Linked DNA regions of Homo sapiens: region 2 is linked to region 1. Evidence: promoter capture Hi-C in 16 types of primary human blood cells and fetal thymus (Javierre and others, 2016). All regions are on one chromosome and are shown on one strand. The core of a region is centred on a gene start or on the middle of the fragment in contact, and the rest is flanking DNA. Distances in the headings are between cores, read along the strand shown. Region 1 holds the start of CCDC88C (coiled-coil domain containing 88C). Region 2 overlaps RPS6KA5 (ribosomal protein S6 kinase A5).

Region 1 (4,338 bases), core at 774-3,273:
TCTGGATATGCCAAAGCAAACTGCTCCTCTGCCTTTGTGAGCCACAAACGAAGCTGATCTCTCATTAGCTAATAGATTTATGCTCCAGTATGACAACTTGCTCAGTCGTAGGTGAATAGGTGCGCACACGAGGCTGATCCACAGAGAACATTAGGATGTTTTATTTTGCTTCAAGTGCCTGTGAATCATCCCGACACTCAGTTCCAATGTTCCCTGCAGTTTGAGTTAAAAACAGAATGCAAAGGTAGAAGCCAACACCTACGTTGTGGCAAGCTGTCAATCAGGCCGTGCAGAGCTCAGCAACAGGAAAGGATGTGGTCAGATGTACTCGCTGGCAAGAGTAACTTCTACTAAGACCCTGTTCAGGCTGCATGCTTCCAAACAAACAGCACCATGGGACCCTCCTAACACTGTGACTTTAAACTCAGTCCATACAGTAGGACTTAATGAATTGCACTTGCTTTGGGGCAACTGAAAAAGGAAGATGAAATGTAAAGGAGCTCAGAAACACAGACACCCTCATCTAAAATGAAACTTTACAGTAACCCTCGGATGCCTGGGCCCACCCCGACACTTCCTGTAACCAGACACTCTCCGTTACAGTTCCTTGCCCTCCAAAAGGGGACTTTTTCATTTCATTGCTCAAACCACAATTAAGTCCTTGAGTCTGAAGTCAATTGCACTATCTACACCACGTAAATGACAGTCATTCAATTCCAAATTTCCTTCATCAAACCAACTGCCAGACCCACTGTCCTGGAGTTCTTCAAACACCTACGAATGTCCAACAGGCACGTTAATACTGAGATACCAGCGTCTCCACCTTCAGAGAACTACCCCCCACCCCACACACACCCCGCCATGCAACCTTCCACTCCATTTCTACTCTCAAACTTTCTAACGCACCATTCTTTCCTTCCTCCGAGAAGAAGGTAACTTACATTTGCAGCATAATTTGGTTCAAAAAGATGCCGTCCACTAAATCCATGTACATAGTCAGGTTGTCCTGGCTGCCGCTTCCAAACGGGCCAAAAGTTTTCACCTGCGGGGAGGGGGACGAGGAGAGAAAGACAGGAAGTCACCCCGTGCGCACAAACGGTCCAAAGCTCTCCCAGGCAGAGACTGGACGGGTCAGTGTGAGCAGAAGGGGGTCACCCACGCCCACACCACCCTTCAGCAGGCACCAAGCCCGGCCTTCTCCTAGGGCCTGTCTCCCCTCCCCGCGCGGGGCAACAGACACGAGACAGGAGGAAAAACTTCCTCGCCACTTTTCTCCCGCGTTCCAGAGCGGAAGAAATAAAAATAAAAAGGACTTTTCAATAAATGTCTCACGTCTCAAATCCATTGTAAATCAGTGCGCCCACCCCAGTCTGTTCGCTTTCCCATTCGGCGCCCCCCATTCCCCACCCGTCACCGCCATCCACCGGCTGGTCTCAGGGATTCAGAAAAACTACATGAGATATTTGGTTGGGAAGAATGGGGTCCTTTTCGGGAGTGGCTAAACCCCAGGGACAGGAGTGACCACTGGGACCCGGTCCGCCCCGAGGCAGCCAGCCTAGAGCCCCAGCGGGAACAGGTGTACCCGCCCGGCTCCTGGCCCGGCCGAAAGCGCGGCGGGGTCCCGCGCCGGACGCACAACGGGGGCGCCGGCTCCAGAGTTACAAAGCTCCGGACTCCAGGACGCGGCCCCAACCCCGGCCGGGAGCCACTTGCTGCGTCCCTCGCGCCCCGGAGCCACCCGGGGCCCCGGCCGTGTCGGGTCTGCGGCGTCCCGTCGCCGGGCTAGAGAGAAGCCGGTGCACCAACAAAGGGGCGGGGAGCCAGGCGCACTCACCCAGGTCACCAGCGGGCTCTGCAGGAAGAGCTCCAGGAGCTCCGAGACTGTCACGTCCATGCTGAGGCTGCGCCCGCCGGCTCCGCGCCCCCCGCCCCGCGTCCCCGTTCCCCCGCGCCGCGGCACAAAACGGCTCCGCAGCGAGCAGCGGGCGCGGGGCTGCGGCGGCTCGCGCCCGGGAGACAAAGGCGGGGCGCGCGAGCCCACGTTCCGCGGCTTCGGCGGCCCCGCGCCCCGCCCGGGTCTGGGGGAAGGGGAGGGCCAGCCGCTCGGGGAGGAACAATACGGGCGGCCCCGCCCCTCGGCGGCCCTGGGCGACCGGCGCGCCGCCTCGCGGTGCCAGCCCGGGAGCCCGGGAGCCCGGGCGCGGGACCAGGCTACGCGGGGCGCTGGGAGGGGACTGGTGGCCCGAGGCGGGTGGGTCGCGGGGCCCGGCTCCCCGCCCGTGGGACCGCGCGCCCTCGCCGAGCGCAGCCTCCCCGCGTGTGGGGCCCCAGCACGTGGCGCATCCCTGCGCGCGTGCGCGTGCAGCCGGGGCCCGAGCGCCACGTGCGAGCTGGGGTGCGCGGGCACTGGTGCGTGCCGGGAGCGGGGACGCCCTGCCCTCCGAGGTTGCTCTGCCCTCCGAGGTCGCCCGCAGCTGCCGCCCGCTCTGGGCTTGGGGACCTCGGCCCTGCGCCTTTCCGCACTCCTGGCAGGTGCAGCCCCAGGTACAGTCAAGAGGCCCCGCAAACCCCCGCTCCTCACGCTTGTGCGCGGCGCGATAAACGCGCCCCGACCCTGGGGCTGGGCTGGAGGGCAAAGAAGAAACTTTATGTTGAGTTTAGGCCTTAGGGGCGCGGCCCCTCGCGCCCTACCGTGCCCCACCGTGCCATGTTCCGGGCTGCCTGCCTTCTAAAAGTTCCTGCAGGAAGCAGGTGATGTGGCCTCCCCGACCCGGGCCCGCCCCCACCACTTTGCCGGAGGCGAGCTAAATTCCAGCCGGGGTTCCTAGCAGCAGCTTAGTGGCAGGCGACAGGAAAAAGGGCAAAGGCCCCAACTGGCTGGAAGGCAAGCCCGGGGGCAGGACCTCCTTGCGGGACGGCACGAGGCAGGAGCCGGCTCCAGGCTGGTCTCGGCCTGGTAATAATTTCACACCACCAGCCGGTCATTGTTCAAAGCACTGTAGACCATTTTACTAATTTAACCCTAACGATCGCCGCATTTCGCAGCTGGGCCAACTGGTACAGGGTTGACCCGAAGGGCCCTGCGTGGCGCTTGGCAAGTATACAGCAGGCACTAAATGGCTGCCGACAGGCTCGGTGGTAATTTTGAAAGTTGGCTCTGTGCAGCGTTGGGGCTGCGGCATCTGCTGGTGGCGAGTGGTATTACAGCCCAGCGCTGGCGGACCCCGTTGGGCTGGGGAGGGTTGTGAGATTATGGCCTGAGAGCCAAGGGGGTCGGTTAGGGGTCCCTAGAGACTGTGGAAGGCGGGGTAGCATAAAACACAATGGGGGACTGCGGAGGAACTAAAATTTCGAGACTACATGGTTTTGTTGTGCACCAGAAGTTCATTAGAGAAGTTCCTTAATTGCTTCTCCGCCCGCCGCGATGGCACTCGACCCCGCGGATTAATTTAACAACTCTGATGGTTGCTCTGTGAAATTTAAAGAACAGTGGTTTAAGCAAAGACCACAAGAAAGAAGAATTGAGATCAAAGAGGAGTGTGTGCCATCGCTGTGGAGGAGTTTCAGTTGTGAATCATGAAATGTCCTGTAAACCATTTCAAGGAGTTTGATTTTTATACCAAAAACAATGGGAAGACACTACAGGTTTTTGGAGCAGCAGCTCAGACGTGTCGAAAAAGATGTTTTGATCCCTAAAATAATGAGAGAAAAGGCCAGAGAGAGGTCTTCTGACAAGTTCAAGATTTTACCAAATGTTGCAAGAACTCTGGAATCCTTATGGTAGTAAAATGCTGGAAAGAAAATTCTGCATTGAAAGAATGTCTTAACAGCTCACTATAATGACCCAGCCTTTTATGAATAATGCAAAGTGGAAAACCTGAAGGAAAAGGAAGAATTCAGAAAAACTGGAATTTCTACAAAGAAAAGTCTACAGAAGCTGCCCACAAGTGTGTAGACAAATATTCAGATGACATTCAGGATCTCTAATACTCATGGAAGTCGTTTATAGAATAAACCTTAAATAATGGACTCAAGAATGTGTGTTTGCTAATTATGTGTGTATCCTAATTATGGAAATATTAATTTTATCTGAAATAAAAATCTTTTTTTCTTTTCTCTTTTTTTTTTTTTTTTTTTTTTTTGAGACAACAGAGTCTCACTCTGTTGCCCAGGCTGGAGTGCAGTGGCGTGCTCTCTGCTCACTGCAACTCCGCCTCCCGGGTTCGCGCCATTCTCCTGCCTCAGCCTCCAGAGTAGTTGGGACTGCAGGCGCCCACCACCACGCCCGGCTAATTTTTTGTATTTTTTACTAGAGACGGGGTTTCACCGTGTTAGCCA
Region 2 (4,338 bases), core at 884-3,383, 520 kb before region 1:
AAAACGCGTGAAAAGTACAACCCTGTAAGTGAATTAGTACACATGGGAAAAAAAAAAAAAAAAAGTAGGATACCTGATCATGAAAAACTTCATGCAACTTCACAATATTGGGGTGTCCTTCACAGAGTTTCAGAGCTGTTATTTCCTTTTGAGTATTGGCTTCCATCCTGCAAGATGAGACACTTAGCATCCACATGTCTCTTCAAGAAAGTTTTTATATCAGTACTGCCCCAAGACTAATTTTGTCTTATTTACAGTGCATTCAGAATATACATGTTACAGTATACTGTAATGAGGTTTCCATGAAAGTAATGAATTATACCACACACTAGAAAAAGTAATATTCTGGAGAAAATTATTATTTCTGAGTCAGAAAAGTACAAATCATATGAGGAAATGAATGCTCTACTTTCCTGACAATTTAGAGTAATAAGAATATGCAATCTTAATAATAATCATCAGTTACCAAAACAACTAGATGGCTCTCAAAGCTATCAGTAGCTTGCTAAATAATTTTAGAGAAAAATATTTCAAATACACAACTAGTAGAAATGGCAATGGCTGCCAAAATCACTATGTGAGCCTGATTAAATATGTCACTGTCACAAAGACGTTTTCTCTAGATAAACTCAAAAGCAAATAAGACTATGATTTATGTCTAAAATGGATTACTTTATCAGAAAATATCAATTAGAGCTAAAAGTATAATGGACCAACTGATGAGCCAAGTGGTTAAACCTTTGGGTAAGAAAGTCTTACAATATAATACTGGTTTCAATTAAAATAAATATCTTTTAATTTACAGAATTCATGAATACCTAAGAAAGAATATTATATTAAAAATGGTCATACCTTTTGCTGATTATTTTGACTGCAAAAGCTTGGTTACTTTTTTTATGCACACACTTTCGACAAATTGAAAAACTACCTTCTCCCAGGGGTTTGTCCTTCAAATCTAGGTCATAGTGTTGATAGAATGGAGAGTCCTGTCAAGAAATCAACATCATTTAACTTCAGAAAATGTCAGTAATACACAAAGGATCAATAAAATTGTAGAGTAAAATAAAATTATTAATATTAATAAACAGGAATAGAATACATTTATAATCTAAAATTCATCTTTATAGGTAACTTCTATTTTCATCTAAATAATTATTTAAGATACATAATTCTCTATAATTGTAAAAAGAAGTTCATTCAACTTGACGTTAATTCTCTAGGGAAAATATTGCTATATCCCACTTTTAAAATTGCACTTTAGTTGAATTACTAGACTTAAGAACATTAATTAGAGTTGGTATTTAAACACTCACAAAACCTACAAATATGTCATATAAGTTACCACATCTATATACCTTCATCATTGCACTCCTGGCAACATTTGTCACTCCAGGACGTTCAACTCCCATGTGAAACTGAAGAGGGTCTATGACAGCTGCATTACGCTTGAATAGGATGGAAGGAGCAACAAAGGAATAGCCCTAAAAACAAGACAAAGAAAGATAAAGAAAAACAACTTGCAGTTTTCCAGTTTAACACAGATTAGATTGTAATGACTTTTTTTCCTTAGAAAAACACTCAAATATTTGTTGAGATGAGTCTAATTTTATTTTATTTGCAATCTAAAATGCAAGGTTATTTCAAATCATTTGAAAAATGCTGTTCAGAAGGATATAATGCCATCTTCTGGTAGAACTAAACCAATTCAAAAATAAAGGTAGAAAAAGACTTCTTCCCTATTCCACCCCCAAAATCAGACTCATAGATGAAATTCTCCTGGTTTGCTGATGAAATTTGTTTACAAACATAACTAACTTCTCAAAAAAGGATACAGTCAAGGTATTAAACAAAGTGGTCTTTTTTTTTTGAGATTGAGTCTGGCTCTGTTGCCCAGGCTGGAGTGCAGTGGTGCGATCTTGGCTCACTGCAACTTCTGCCTCCTGCGTTCAAGCCATTCTCCTGCCTCAGCCTCCCAAGTAGCTGGGATTATAGGCACATGCCACCATGCCTGACGGGGTTTCACCATGTCTCGAACTGGTCTCAAACCCCTGACCTCAAGTGATCAACCCACCTCGGCCTCCAAAAGTGCTGGGATTAAAGGCCTGAGCCACCAGACCCAGCCACAAAGTGGTCTTTAAATGCTATTGTTTTTCAAACTGGAAAAATGGCAAGTCTCACTAAAGTTAGTTTCTAATTTAGCAATTATTTGATTCTTATTAATATCTTCAGAATAATTAAATTTAAAATTGAGTTTTGGAAAGGAACAAAGTCTAATGGCAGAATGATGCTCTGAGCTAAGTGGTACAAAGACGGATGATTAATCCGTTCAAGCTAGAACATTCACTAATCAACAAACATTTAAAAAAATGTTCAATAAGTGCCCAGTCACATACTAGACAGTGATAAGCAAAGAAGAAAAGACACCGTCTGGATGGCCAGATTAAGCCATACTAAAGGTATACTTATAGAAGTCAAAGAAGCAAAGCTCTGATGCCATTTAATAGTTAGAATATTTTATCTTGTGTGACAAATGCCCTTTTCTAAATATAAAATCTAAATCTTTTTTTAACAGCAGTTAAGATTAATTACTGAAGGTAAAGAATAAGGTAACATTGTGAACTAAAGAATGTTTTTATATGGGGGTTGAGGGGCACGGTGGCTCATGCCTAGAATCCCAGCACTTTGGGAGGCCAAGGCAGGAGGATCGCTTGAGGCCAGAGTTCAAGACCAGCTTAGGCAACAAAGTAAGACCCTGTTTCTACAATTTTTTTTTAATTAGGTGGGTGTGGTGGCATGCACCTGTGGTCCCAGCTATTCAGGAGGCTGAGGCAAGAGGATCCCCTGAGCCAAGCAGTTAAAAAGGCTGCAGTGAGCTATGATCATGCCACTGCACTCCAGCCTGGGTGACAGAGTGAGACCTTGTTTCTTAAAAAAAAAAAATTTTTTTGGCTGGACGTGGTGGCTCATGCCTGTAATGCCAGCACTTTGGGAGGCCAAGGCAGGAGGATCACTTGAGGCCAGGAGTTCAAGACCAGCTTAGGCAACATAGCAAGATCCTATCTCTGCAAAAAATAGAAAAATTAGCTGGGTGTGCTGGTTTGCACCTGTGGTCTCAGCTATCCCAGAGGCTAAGGTGAGAGGATCACTTGAGCCCAGGAGTCTGAGGCTGCAGTGAGCTAGGACAGCACTGCTACACTCCAGTCTGGGCATCAGAGTGAGACCCTGTCTATATAAATAAAAATTTTTAAATATGAATAGAGGTAAAATAAAAGATTATTGTATTTTCTATAAAAGAATCTGAACAAAAATAAAATTTCAGGTATAAAATTAAAACTTCCCTTATATCAAAAATAAATGCATAAACAATATCTGCTATTGAGCAAACTATAAGCTTCGGTTAACAATGTGCAATATTTCTGCATTTAATAATTTAGAGGATATTAGAGAATCCCATTTTTATGATGCCAACAAAACTACTTCAATATGGGAAATTTAATCTTTTCTTTCAAAGGACATATGGCCAATGTGCATGTGCACAGGATGGGAAATTACCTGAAACAGCTTCTCAGAACTCTGGGGCAGGGCTGCGGGAGAATAAGTGGGATCCATTTCTGTGAACTCTTCTGCAAAGTTACTCACATCTAATTCATCTCGAATGACTGGCTTAAATGGTGCAGGCACTTTTTTGGCGGCTAAATCATCCCAATTTATTTTCTAAAACAAAGAAAGTTGGTACAAAGTAGAAATCAATAGTCAAAATGTACTTTCTAAGAATAACAAAGATAAATTAGGATTTTGACTGGTAGGGAGAGAGGATAAAAATAAGAGAACATATTTCAAATCAATAATAAAAAACATATTTTCTCCAAACAAGATCACAGCAGTTTATAGCTCCAACCAATGCTGTGCCTCAAAGATGAGACTATCGCTGTTGAATCTCAGAGTGTCCTCTGGGGGGCACCAAGACACCCTAGTTTACCTTTAAAGACAACAGAAGAATACTTTTGTCCTGAGCCTCCTCAGAAAGGTGTTAAGCCAAAAAGAAAACAAAAAACCCAAAACAAAATAAAAAACTGAAATAAAGGGTTTCCAAAGGCTCTACAGATGTGGATATTAGCTCTAAAAGAATGTTCCTATTTTCTAGAGGCAGTGTTACTTAGCTCTCTGCCTGCACTTGCTTTTCCTCCTGGGCATCCAGACAGACTGGAAAATAAATCCACTGTAAATCAGGCATGTGCTTATGTCTAGAAGTTCAAATGATACCATCATATGGATGTGATCACTCTTTTCTTATTCAACTGTGTTCAAGCATTTTAAACACTGCCTCTTATGTCCCCC

What was found. The method cuts DNA at HindIII sites, captures the fragments that hold promoters and counts their contacts. A CHiCAGO score of 5 or more calls a contact.
Region 2: a contact is called between a fragment that was not itself captured here and the fragment with the promoter of CCDC88C in region 1, in 1 of 17 cell types (total CD4 T cells). The highest score is 5.1, in total CD4 T cells.

What each region holds. Positions count from the first base shown.
Region 1 is chr14:91,415,797-91,420,134 of GRCh38, forward strand. It overlaps CCDC88C (coiled-coil domain containing 88C), which reads right to left and starts at 2,024. Exons shown (of 30, transcript NM_001080414.4): 1 at 1,835-2,024; 2 at 942-1,042. The coding sequence starts at 1,894. It overlaps CCDC88C-DT (CCDC88C divergent transcript), which reads left to right and starts at 2,450. Exons shown (of 3, transcript NR_184261.1): 1 at 2,450-2,544. It also overlaps the pseudogene LOC112268126. RefSeq lists enhancers at 1-79, 470-599, 610-899, 2,505-3,149, 3,390-3,439 and a silencer at 1,520-2,439. The HindIII fragment of the contact is 7,798 bases long and covers 1-4,338 here.
Region 2 is chr14:90,899,256-90,903,593 of GRCh38, forward strand. RPS6KA5 (ribosomal protein S6 kinase A5) reads right to left here. Exons shown (of 17, transcript NM_004755.4): 9 at 3,553-3,714; 10 at 1,356-1,481; 11 at 853-986; 12 at 74-167. Among named protein-coding and RNA genes, the nearest start is that of LINC02321, 73 kb to the left of the region's middle. The HindIII fragment of the contact is 2,511 bases long and covers 879-3,389 here.